Regions from separate parts of the Homo sapiens genome. Here region 2 is linked to region 1. The links are contacts of gene promoters, found by promoter capture Hi-C in blood cells and fetal thymus (Javierre and others, 2016). All regions are on one chromosome and are shown on one strand. Each heading gives the region's core, a stretch centred on a gene start or on the middle of the fragment in contact. The rest is flanking DNA. Distances are from core to core; before and after follow the strand shown.

Region 1 (6,298 bases), core at 443-2,942:
GGCGGATTGCCTGAGGTCAGGAGTCCGAGACCAGCGTGGCCAACATGGTGAAACCCTGCCTCTACTGAAAATACAAAAATTAGCCAGGCATGGTGGCTGGCGCCTGTAATCCCAGCTACTCGGGAGGCTGAGGCAGGAGACTCACTTGAACCTGAGGCAGGAGAATTGCACCGCTGCACTCCAACCTGGTGACAGAGTGAGACTCTGTCTAAAAAAAAAAAGTCAGAGATATAACAACAGCTGCCAATTCTTGAGGCTCCTTATGATCCAGGTTCTGTGATGAAAGCTTTATATGCATTATCTCATGAGATTTCCTCATGATCATATGAGGTAAGTGCTATTAGGAGGAGAAAATCAAGGATCAAGGATCAGAGAATTTACAAAATTTGCCTTGGTCACACAATGAATAATAAAGTGTCTGGGCCTGGGTTTGAATTCGGGGCTGTTGGCTACAAAGCCTGGGCTCTTAATCATCATGGGTTATTGCCACCTTGGCCTCAACCATCTAATGAGGAATTAAGCTGTGGACTGTCTCTGGAGGGCTTTGAATGCCAAGGCTCAGACTTGCATAAAAATCACACAGCACCAGGCAAGAAATCAGACCTGAAATCTAGCAGCAGCTTCTAGCAACTTTTTACCACTCACTACCCAAGTTTGCTTCTCTGAGCCTCTCTAAACCGGAGTGATGAGGAATGTATTATCAGCAATGAAGGTTTTTGAATGAGGCAGAGAGGCTCTTGTGACAAAAGGATTGTTTAAAAGAAACCTAGAGATGTTCAAACATTTACTGAGTATTGGGTCCTAATAATACAACTGTGAACAAGACAAAGCTCTGCAGTGGGACTCTGACCCTGCTGTGCCCCCAGGCAGCTTGGGAGAGTAGAAGAACCCCTTAACTGGAAAAACAAGGGCTCCAGAGCTGGGACCTGTCCCAGATTCTGTTGCCAGCTCTCAAATCAGGGAATCTCTCTGTATGACCTTGGGCAAGTTACCCAGCCTTTCAGACTGTCAGTCTTTATCATGGGGATCATCATTCCTCTTCCCAGGATTGTTGGAATAAATTAACTAAAACAACGCTTGTAAGGATCTAGCATGGTGCCTGGCATCCTGTAGGCGCTGAATAGATGTTAGTTTTCCCTACAAAGAAGTAGACTAGTTTGCCTCCGTCCCTCACCCCTCTGCCATTAAAGGGAACAGGTTCCTGGCCTTCATTTTAGCAGGAAAGGGGATATGAATGCACATGTGCTAGCTAAGCAACAATGCAAACTAACAAAAGGGCCTGTGGCCTGGGGAATACACTGCTGGGTCTGGGCTCAGGCTGGGACCCCGCGCCAAAATGTTTCCCTTCAATCCCAGGGAATCCGGGCCCATTTCTCGGGGCGCTGTGCACTGCTCTGGCCGCCTCTGCACTGTGAATCCCGGAACCACCCTCTGTCTCCGTCTCGCCGGCTGCTAACTAGCGCGGCCGGCGGCTGGCGGCACCAACAGCAGGTGTGGCTGCCCCTTTAAGCAGCGAAGCTAGTGTTGCAATCGCCGCCTCGAGGACGCGTTCTTTCCGGGGGGGGGGGGGGGGGTGGAGCCTGTACTGTCGCAGCAGCCAACCGGAGCGCGGCATTTTCCGCGGGAGATCCGAATTTCGCGGCACGACGTTTGGCGCTAAAAAAAAAAAAAAAAGAAGAAAAAAAAGAGGCAGAGAAAGACTCAAGGACTAGAGAGCGAGCCGCAAGGAAGTCGGTGCAGTCGAGACCCCCCTCCCCATCCCAGCGCATCGCGTCTCCGCCGAGCTTGAGGGCACGCCGGGGACCCCTCCCCAGAGCCGGCCGGACCCCAGGTGCCGAGGCCTTGGGGAGCGCGGGGCGTCCCGGGTCGCGGTGCCCTCGGGACGAGACAGCCCCTGGCAGTGCCACCACCGCAGCCGCCGGGCGATCTCCAAGCGGCGATCTCTAAGCGCTGCTCTCTGCTCGGCCGCGGGCCAGGAGGGGAGGGTCCGGCCTTGCCCCGCAGGCGTCCATTGGCGGCTTCCCCCGGCCTCCGCGCCATGCCGCGGGCCGTGTGAAAGGCGGCAGCACCGGAACCCGCAGGTGTCCGCGGGCGCGCCAAGCCCTTTTGGGTAGGGGGCGCCTTACTCGCTATGCTGCAAGGGCCCCGGGCCTTGGCTTCGGCCGCTGGGCAGACCCCGAAGGTGGTGCCCGCGATGAGCCCCACAGAGCTGTGGCCATCCGGCCTCAGCAGCCCCCAGCTCTGCCCAGCTACTGCTACCTACTACACACCGCTGTACCCGCAGACGGCGCCTCCCGCAGCGGCGCCAGGCACCTGCCTCGACGCCACTCCCCACGGACCCGAGGGCCAAGTTGTGCGATGCCTGCCGGCAGGCCGGCTGCCGGTAATGCTGGGGGCCCCCACCGCTTCCCCCTATGCTTTTCCAGGTGTGGGAAAGGAGGGAGGGGTGCCTGAGATCCAGTTTGAGTGGAGCAGGTAGAGTTTTGGGAAGAGGGAAGATGAGCTTTCAGTTTCCAGGACCCAGTGCCCCCAATATCTGAGTAGAAGACCCCTTCATTTTCAGACTTTGGATGAAATAATCTCATCCATTCTAGTGGAGTGGAATGAGCACTGGATTGCGAGTCTGGAGGGAGACCCAACTCACTACTCCCAGTGCACTGTGTGACCTTGGGGAAGTCCATGCAGCCAGCGTTGCCGCCATTCATTCATTACTTCATTGTTTGGCCAGAAACCAGTACTGGGTGCCTGCTATTGTCCAGGCAAAGAGTATGGCCTGGGGACACTGTGGGACTTTGGTAAGACAGAGGGATAGGTCTAGTGGGTCTCTCACATCCAATCTGCCATGGACAGACTCCAAATTGTCCAGCCAGCTCCTGAGATAGCCCCAAGTATCTGCCCTAGGTCCTCCCCCAGGCCCAGTCTTCCCTCCCAGACAGCCATGTAGCAGATACAAATGTGGGCAGCCCCCTTGGGTTCTGTTCAGATTGGCTGCTCTCTCCTCAAGCTCCCAGGCTCGTTGCCAGAGAGGGCCCAAAGTGTAGTGGCACCAGGCTGCCTGCTGACCTGGGCTCAGGGTGTGTTTTGTGGGAGTGGAATTCCTGGAGCCCGTGTGAATCAAAACAACTTTAGGGTGGGGGGTGGAGTGGGAAAAGCCTGGGGGAGTGGAGGTGGTGGTGGTTGAGGAGCCTGGTTTCTGGTGTGACTCTGCCACTAATTCTCTGTGTGTCCTTGGACAAGTCTTGGACCCAGTCTGGGCTTCAGTGTTCTCTCCTTCACAATGCGTGTGTGCACAGGGTGGCTGTGGGGCTAGCTCTTCTCAGCCACATTCAGCTCCAGGTCCTGGGTTTTGGAAGCAGGCTCCAGGGAGAGGAAGGGGGTGTTGTAGGTTTGCTTAGTTGTGAGTTTGGTGAATAAGTTCGGGTACAGGGATAAGACCACCCCCCACTGCCCCAGAGGCATCTGGTCAGACCTGTGCTAGTCAGCAAGCACGGATGCCCAGCCAGCTCTGGATGCAGGCAGAGCCACCACTCCCTGCCAGTGGACTCAGGCTTTGCCCATGTTCAAAACGTTAACCTTCCTGGAGACCCTTCCTGCACATGATTTCTAACTAGGAGGGCAGTGGGCAGGAATGGTATTATCCCCATTTTACAGGTTAAGCAACCGAGGATAACTGGGATTGGGTATCTTGTGTTCAGTGTTTTATAGCCTAAAACATCTTTGTAGTTCGTGAAATAGATGGCATTAATAGCTCCATGTTACAGGGGGAAACTGAGGCTCAGAGAGGGGATGTGACCTAAGGTCAGAGATGGGGATGGGGTAGAGTGATGGGACTCACAAGGCAGTCAGCTCTTCTGTCTTTTATTTTTTATTTTTTGTAGAGACAGGGGTCTCCCTATGTTCCCCAGGCTGGTCTCAAACTCCTGGGCTCAAGCAATCCTCTTGCCTCAGCCTCCCAAAGTGCTGGGATTACAGGCATGAGCTAGCTACTCTAATGCACCTGGTCAGGCAGCAGGCTCTTCTCTATGTAGCCTTGACTTTTTTTAATACTGCCTAACTTAGGAGCTGAGCTCCCCCCAGGGAAGGGAGCTTTGCGGCAGGCCCACTCTCCTCTGGCCAGCTGCTTTCAGACTGGAAGTTTCAGTAACAGCTGTGGTTTTACACTGCTTTGAACCCTCCCAGAGGAGCCCAAGTACATCTGTCTGTACCTCCCTCCCAGAAGGGCTCAGTGATCTTAGCAAGAAGGTCTCTCTTTTACTGAGTGCCTCTCGTGTGCCAGACACTGCTTGGCACTCTTCACGTTCATTATCTTGGTCAGGATGTCCAGAATGAGGCACCTTGCAGATAAGGAAACTGAGCAAAGAAAGGAAGTCACTTGCCTGGGTCACAAGTGAAGAAGCAGGGGAGTCTCCTTGCAGCAGACCACCCTAAAGCCCTGCCAGGCCCAGAGCTCCCGCTCCTGTCAATCCCCAGATGCCCGGGGCCCAGCCCCGTGGGCAGGCCTGCCCTCTGCTTACTCATTTTACAAGGGCGTGACCTGGAACAGCTCCAAACCCAACCCTGGGTGTGGCCGCTTGCTTTGTGGCCGGGCTGCAAAGTGCAGGGTGAGCAGGATTTGTTGTGGAGCTTCTGTTTAAAGGGACCTCAGGCACTGTCCAAGGATGGCAACCAAGTTCAATGGCAGAATGAAGGCCACAACCCAGATCTCCTGGCTCCCTGTCCAGAGCTCTTTCCAAGTCCTCTGAGGAAGGCTCAGGGAATGCCCCTTTATCGCATGCCTCCTCTGGCCAGGCGCATGGCATCATTCTCTTTCACGCCTGCAGGAAGCTCTGCCCAGGCTGGCTTGCAATAGCGCCATCTCTGCTCACTGCAAACTCCACCTCCCAGGTTCAAATGATTCTCCTGTCTCAGCCTCCCAAGTAGCTGGGATTACTTTTTGTATTTTTAGTAGAGATGGGGTTTCACCATGTTGGCCAGGCTAGCTTCGAACTCCTGACCTCAGGTGATCCACCCGCCTTGGCCTCCCAAAGTGCTGGGATTACAAGCGTGAGCCACCACGCCCGGTCCTCCTTTTCTTTCAATTTGTCTACATTTTCCAGATTTCCTCTTGTGAGGCATGAAAGAAAATAAACATTTTAACACACAACTCTACAAGGCAGGTCAGGTGAGGAGGTGTAGGCTCAGAGAGGCAAGACAGTGAATCCCAGGCTGTTCAGCTACGAAGTGGCAGAGCTGGGATCTGAAAGCAAGGTTCGACCCCTTACATTTGCTCCTACCCCCACCATCTGACTTAGGGCTTAGGAGAGACCAGGCTCCACTCTGCGTGACCTTGGGCAAGTCAATTCCTCTTCCCCAAGTCCCAGTTTCCTCACCGTGGTGCCCGTAAGGGGGTTGTGCCTGGTGATCTCTGACCCTCTGCACTTCTGCAGCTGCCTGAGGAAGGAGCTGTACTCTTCTCCATAGGGGTTGGCAGGGTGGGCTTGCGTCCTGACCAGGCCTTGAAGATCCAGCCAAAGGGGCTGCCTAAGAGCGTCCAGGATAGGGCTAAGCTGGCCTCTGGCTGTGGCCATAGCCTTTGCTCTCCTCCCCTCATCGCAGTCTCTTTTCAGCTCACCCTTGAACTTTCCCCTTTTCCCACTGGTGCTCCCCATACATCAGTGCTAGCAGCTCCCTGGTGGGGGCACTCCCTATGGGCAAAGCGCTTTGCTGCACTATCTCACTGAATCCTCAGCATAGGTGGAGACAATGATGCCCATTTTATAGGTGACTTGACGTCAACTGATTTCCCAGCTAAGAAGGGGAAGGCCTAGATGCAAAGCCAGGCCAGTCTGACTCCAAGACCTGTGCTCAGCCTCACCTTGATGCTGATCCTCCTGGGCTTGTCCTCTGCCACCTGTGTTCTGCAGGTTCAGCCCAAGCCATAGGCTGACTTTCCTCTGGGCACTGTCCAAAGGTGTCAGGGAGGTATCCTTAGGGGGACACTTGCCGCATTGGGACCCTGGGAGTGCAGAATAAGGGTGAAGGAGAGTGAGAAAAGAGAGAAGGCTGTGTGTGTGTGTGTGTGTGTGTGTGTGTGCAAGTACATGCAGTGATGGGGGCAGGTGGGCGTAGCCCAGGCCTTGGCCCAAATTCTAGCAAATCCTGGGGCAGCGTGTGTGGGATGCAGCTGAGGCAGCCTGGTACATGGCTTTGCAGTCAGACAGGCCTGGGTTCAAACCCTGGCTCCGGCCTTTGTGTGACCTTGGGCATGTGCTTACTCTCTGTAAGTCTCCATTTTTTGGCTTCCGAGAGCCAGTGCCAA
Region 2 (5,967 bases), core at 2,789-5,288, 430 kb before region 1:
CGACACACCTAACAGCTTCAAAAGGACTATATTACAGTTGAACCCATGGTAGTTTGGATCCTACTGATACTTGATGAGGATCTTTACGTAGTGTTTTATGTTAGTTTTGGGTGATGTAGTTGAGTCCCCCACTTACTGAGTTTACCTACTGTGTATGACTGGGCTCAATGATAAATAGAATGGTTATATCAACACTCAAATGAGGGCTGACACACTTCACCTCTCCTTTTACTTAAGATCTCTCTGCATTTTTTTTTTTTTTTTGAAGCCAAGTAAGCAAGAAGAAAAATGAGAGATAATGCTTCAGTGAGAGAGGAAAGGTGCTACATAGAGTATGAGCTGTTAAGTTACATCCCAGGGGAAAGACCTGGGAACTATTGTATTATTCTCTTGAAAATTTGGCCCAGTAAGCTGCTACATCCAGTTCAACTAACAAAATCCTGTATACCACAGAGAAGAATAAAGGAAACCAAACTGACAAACATCCTTCTTTTATTTAAGACCAAACTGCAGCTGGAATACCCAGTACAGTTCTGCTTACTACACTTCAAGAAAGATCTGAAAGCGGAAAAAGAACCAAAGAAGGGCAGTTCAAGCGACCAAAGGGTGGGTGGAAGGTGCTGCAGTATGAATACTGTACGAATATTTTGACTCTGGTCTGAAAAGATAAAAGAATGTTATCGAAAACTACATGGAATAATTGAAGTCCCTTCAAGTTTGAAAGTAAGCATTTTAGGACAAATAAAAGGAAATTCAACTTTGTACTTGTGGAAACTAATCCCTAAATATGAATAGGTTTATATTGATTCATGGGTAACAGGTCCATAATAAATTATTGGAAACTAGGATGTCTGAATATCAAGGAAGACAGCCATAGTCTCTTACAGTGCCTCTGTTGGTCTGTCTCAAACTGAATTGGGTGGGAAAAGGTATGGTCCAATATAAAAGTTCCATTTTTGCCATTATTGGCAAATCTTGCCTTTGTTTATTTTGGTGCCAGTGTTTTCTGCTTAATCATTTGCTTTGTTGGCATCTGTGTTTATTTACTTGTACACCACATGCAGTTTACATCTGTCTTAACTACTCCTTCCCAGGTAAATTCCAATTATATTTGACATCCAGCTAAGAGGGCCCATCTCTTCTCACCTCTTTCCTAGTCAGTATATTCAGCAAATATTTATTGAGCCCTTACTGTGGGCAAATCATTGTACTGGATAATTGAGAAAAATAGATAATTCCCTTATTCAGTAAATGTCTACTGAGCACAATCTAGTGAATCATTACAGTATGGCCTCATTGTTTTGTTTGAGGTGTGTTATTCATAACAATATTTTACACCATTCGTATCAATGTAATTATAGAACACAATATACGATCAAGGATAAGTAATTGTGTGGTTATCTGCCATTTAAAAGTATCCAGTATTTGATCACATTATTATAAATAATGAAAAAATGATTTAATCTGTAATAAACTGGTTTATTGTGCAGTGACTGTAATATACTAGAGTTATAATAAATTGTTTACTCTGCCTCACCAAACACATGCTAGGATATAACCCCCAAAATAAGTATTTAACTTTGCATTAGGTATAAAGGAGACTGGGTGCTATAATTAGATTATTTTGAGGCAGACAGAGAGCTGTTATCCTAACTGATTTAGTATGTTCTGTAATTGAGAAAATGTTCACCAAATTATACTTTTTAGTGATTTACATGTACATTTTATAGGGGACATGTTCTGTGTATAGCGAATAAATAACTTTTATAGTATCACAAAATGTTTTGGATTCCTTAGTTTCTTATTAGGATATGATGTTTCTTTACCTATACATTGATTTCATCACATTTGATTTTTGTCATCTTTTTTGCCACATACTTAAAATTTTCCATATAAAATTAACTAAAAATCTGGAAGTGGAATTTAAGCTTTTAATTTGTAGCAATTTTGAAAATATAGCAGAGGTATATTTTCAAGGGAGGTGTGAAATGGAGGTATTATTGTTTGTATTTTATTTTAGAAATTTTGTTTGAACTTGCCCAAGATCACACAGCAAGTGTCAGATCCTAGGTTACAGCCCATAATTTTTCACTTGTTTCATCTTTTGTTACCATGTTTGTTGTTTAATCCAATGGGGAAGTGTTTTTATAGCTTTATTTTCATGGAGATAGTAACATTGATATAATGGGATCTAGAATTTACTTAGAGTCAAAGTGACTAGATTTAATTACAAAAAGTATTTTGTTGTATACCGTTATACACTCATTAACATAGGGGTTCTTATGGACAGAGGTTCTATGTATTTTTAAAAGAATATGTAGAGGCTATAGACTTTTTTGCCCTCTACCTCCCTTCTCCATTTCCTTTTGAAGTTAAGACATTTAAGGGGGAGAATTAAGGTGCATATTGAGTTGGGGTTTTGTTTAAAAAAAATTAGGTAAATACATATATAACTACAATAACAACAGTTGGTAGTTCTCTAAAATATTTAATTATGGTAAATCAGAAAAGGCCCTTTAATTTTTGCATCTGTTGAATGAATTGCTTTAGGATCTCTTCTGTGGTTGTTTCTCTCTATACTGAATGCTGTCAATATTATTGAGCACTTACTGTGCCGAACCATGTGCTTTTCAAATATTTCTATTTAATCCTAAAAACACTCCTGGGAAATGGGTATTATTCCCATTTTACAGATGAGAAAATTGTCCTTTGTAGAATACCCATCATGTGATAGCTTCTTGCATATTATGCTATTCATTTCTCACAACCTTACAAGGTAAATGGATAATGTTCCTGGATGAGAGATTAAACGTACTCGAAGATCTTATGGTTGTGTGGCTCAGAGACTCTAAGCATGGCTTTCCAAATCTCATTCTCTTGTAGAGATTTTCCATTGTATTGCATTTTGACCATGTTCCTGTTTACAAAACCTAAGATTATATTCTGAAGTATCTGTGACTTGAGTGATAGCTCAGGAATAATCTGAGGGCATTCTATTAGGAAGGAGGACTAGCAAAGCCTATAGTTAGCCTATCCTAGGCATGAACTATTCTCATTTTAGATAGGATGACTTGATAAATAGGATGAAGTGAGCAACCTGTTTGTCTTCGGTTATTGCTATCTACAAGACATTCTGCTAGTCACTGTGGAAAAGTTTCCTTCTCTTGGGTTTTTTCCTCTTCCCCTTCCTCTTAACAGTGTTGGTTATCTTTATTATGTTTCTGTGTATTTGTAACAGCTGTTTCACCCTTGTATTGCATAATGGGGATTTTTCTTGGAATAAAAAGTGAGGCATGTAAATTCATTGAGAACTAACCGTAGTTTGTAAAGAAGTAAAAGGCCTTTGTATCTAGTTTTTTGCAGATCACATTTCTTTGAATGCTGGAAAGTGAAATAAACTGGTCTAGGAGCCAAAAATAAATCTTGGGTTTTTTTAAGATTTTGCTCTTAGATTTGTAACCACCTGGGTACAACTTTTTCCTAATTTGTGTAAGAGGTTTTAGAGATGCACTCTGTCCCTCTTGCTTTACAAATTGCCTACAAGAATGCAACCAAAATACTAGAAACTGAAACTTACACAAAACCTTTCAGGTTTTTTCCTGTGTTGTAGTTCTAGGGAAGAGGATAGTTTATTAGTATTTATTTTAAGCTTAAGGATAGGTTTTGGACCTGGATTCCATCATAGTATAACTGCCATCGAAAAGAAGACAAATTGAAATTACAGCATTTACCTAAGGTTCACAGTATGGCTGACTTCAGCAGCCTTACATGGTAAGTTCTCTGTACCAGCTATTTTTGGTTCTCGCAATTGCATCGACTTGGGAAATTCCTATCACCATTCTCTATATAGGCTAACCAAAACTTTTATCAGTACCTTTCCTAAAGTATGAAGTTAGGTAATCTTCCACTCCCACTTCCATTTACTCATTTTGCTTGAGTCAAACCAAAAATCTAGTGTATTACTAGATTAGTCACTAAAAATCTAGTGTATTCAATATATACACTAGATTCAATATATAGCTTAAAAACTAACAGACACCTAGGCTGAGATTTGTCCAATACATGAAGTTCAATTCTGCAATCCTTGGCATTGTTCACAGAAATTACCCTGGAAACAAAATGAACACCCAAATGCTGGTTCTGCCTTAACTCCAAATTGTTAACTAGTTTGCATGAAAATAATACAGCTTTGCCATGGGACTAGTTGTAGCATTTTAAGGATTACTCAAACTAGTTTTAAGATGCCCTATCATTTGGAATCTGTATCAGAAAGGTGTGGTTGTGATGCTTTTCTTCTGAGGGGTCCCCTTATATACTTTTCATTTGTCAACATACTTAAAACACAAGGGTTCTTGTCAACTTGATAAATTTGCTTATAATTTTTTTTCTATGAACCTAGATCATGGAATTAACTTTCAAAAGCTTTGCGATGTTTTCCATGTGTGGCCTTTTTTTTGCTTTTTAATTAACACTACTGGGAGAGAGAAATCCTAAGTAGTTGCTTAACTGCATAGCTGTCAAATCCTAGTATCTTCTGTATCAGTCAGCAAACTAGTTGCCCCTTTTCAAGCCAACAGTCCTATCACATTTTAGTTGTGACCTTTTTTATATATACGTATATATATATGATCAGAAATGTAGTGGTTCATAGTTCTGGAGTCTGAGAAATCCAAGAGTTTGGAATATTGTGAGTGTATTATGAGCTTCAAGTCAGTGACAAGTAAAACACATTTTTAAAAAGAATATTAAGCAATCAAAACCATTTTTAAAATAAAACCAAGCCAATGGGGAAAAATTTTATTTAATTTTATGCTTCACATTCATATCATGTACATTAAGTACTACATAAACTTGTCTTTAGGCTATCAATATTTAACTTGGGCAGTACTTCATCTTGATTTATTTGGAGAAATACAGCTTAGGCATCTGCTTACCTGCTTAGGCATCAAGAGGTGCCAAATTAGAAAATAGGGCATTAACAATCAAAATTTTTAAGCTGACCCACATACTTGCTACTGGTTTCGCTTATGTTTAAGCATTTAAAGTTGGCAAAACATGTTATCAATGTATTATGCAAGAGTTTACATCTTTTGCATAAGTGGTCCATTGGGTTGCACCTACCCCTTGACCAAACAAAAACAAAACATCACTGGCACCATACTCGAAACTACCTGTATCCTAGGTTATAAGATTGTGAAAGCCAACAATCTATAAGGTTGGAGGGACTCTAGTTAATCTTTGGGCTTAGAGGAGGAAAAAAAGATAGTCCCATACTGCATTTCACATCTCTTAAAAATAGTTTTAGCAGCTTAAACCTTTTTAGTTATAAAACTTATTACACTAGGGTTTACTTTGAAATATAGTTTACAACCAAATCAAGTATAACATACATACACTGGCACTTTAGCACAAGGGCAAACTTTAAAAACAAGTTATTTTGGACCTTTAAAATTAGGCCATATTATAAAAAACAGTCCACGGTCTTACATTCAGCAAATTCATACTAAAATACTCCATTTTTGTAAGATAAAGGCCAAGAAAACTTTACATATGCTACAAGTTTATTACAGATATTTACATGGCTCTTTCTCCCCTAGGTACTTAAAATTTTCACATTATCCAACTCCCCAAAGCAAGCTTTGCAGGAATGATGAGGCCAGAGCACTATTAGAATAGCTTGTGCAGTGCTGTAATACAAAAATGTATTTTGAAAGCTATTGAGTGACCATTAAATACTGTTTCTATAAAAAATGGTTTTGGTGTATTTGTTGACAGACACTTAATCCACTACATTTAATAAACAGGGCCATTGGGGTGTACTATGTCTCATTCTAATGAGCTCCAAATGCCCTTTCCACCCACTGTACAATTCACTAAAATGCAATTATTACGAAAAATTCACATTTTCTTTCAGCAGTGCATCAGGTTAGCATATTACTGGTTTGGGTGTTTCTAATATACTAAACC

The links. The method cuts DNA at HindIII sites, captures the fragments that hold promoters and counts their contacts. A CHiCAGO score of 5 or more calls a contact.
Region 2: a contact is called between a fragment that was not itself captured here and the fragment with the promoter of E2F2 in region 1, in 1 of 17 cell types (fetal thymus). The highest score is 5.1, in fetal thymus.

What each region holds. Positions count from the first base shown.
Region 1 is chr1:23,526,627-23,532,924 of GRCh38, reverse strand. It overlaps E2F2 (E2F transcription factor 2), which reads left to right and starts at 1,692. Exons shown (of 7, transcript NM_004091.4): 1 at 1,692-2,383. The coding sequence starts at 2,132. LOC101928163 (a long non-coding RNA gene) reads right to left here. Exons shown (of 3, transcript NR_110799.1): 2 at 5,855-5,995; 3 at 4,506-5,520. RefSeq lists silencers at 1,461-1,600, 2,138-2,286, 4,442-4,638 and an enhancer at 4,294-4,423. The HindIII fragment of the contact is 7,412 bases long and covers 289-6,298 here.
Region 2 is chr1:23,962,258-23,968,224 of GRCh38, reverse strand. PNRC2 (proline rich nuclear receptor coactivator 2) reads right to left here. Exons shown (of 3, transcript NM_017761.4): 3 at 4,763-5,967. It overlaps SRSF10 (serine and arginine rich splicing factor 10), which reads left to right. Exons shown (of 6, transcript NM_054016.4): 6 at 1-3,878. Among named protein-coding and RNA genes, the nearest start is that of PNRC2, 5.4 kb to the right of the region's middle. The HindIII fragment of the contact is 773 bases long and covers 3,652-4,424 here.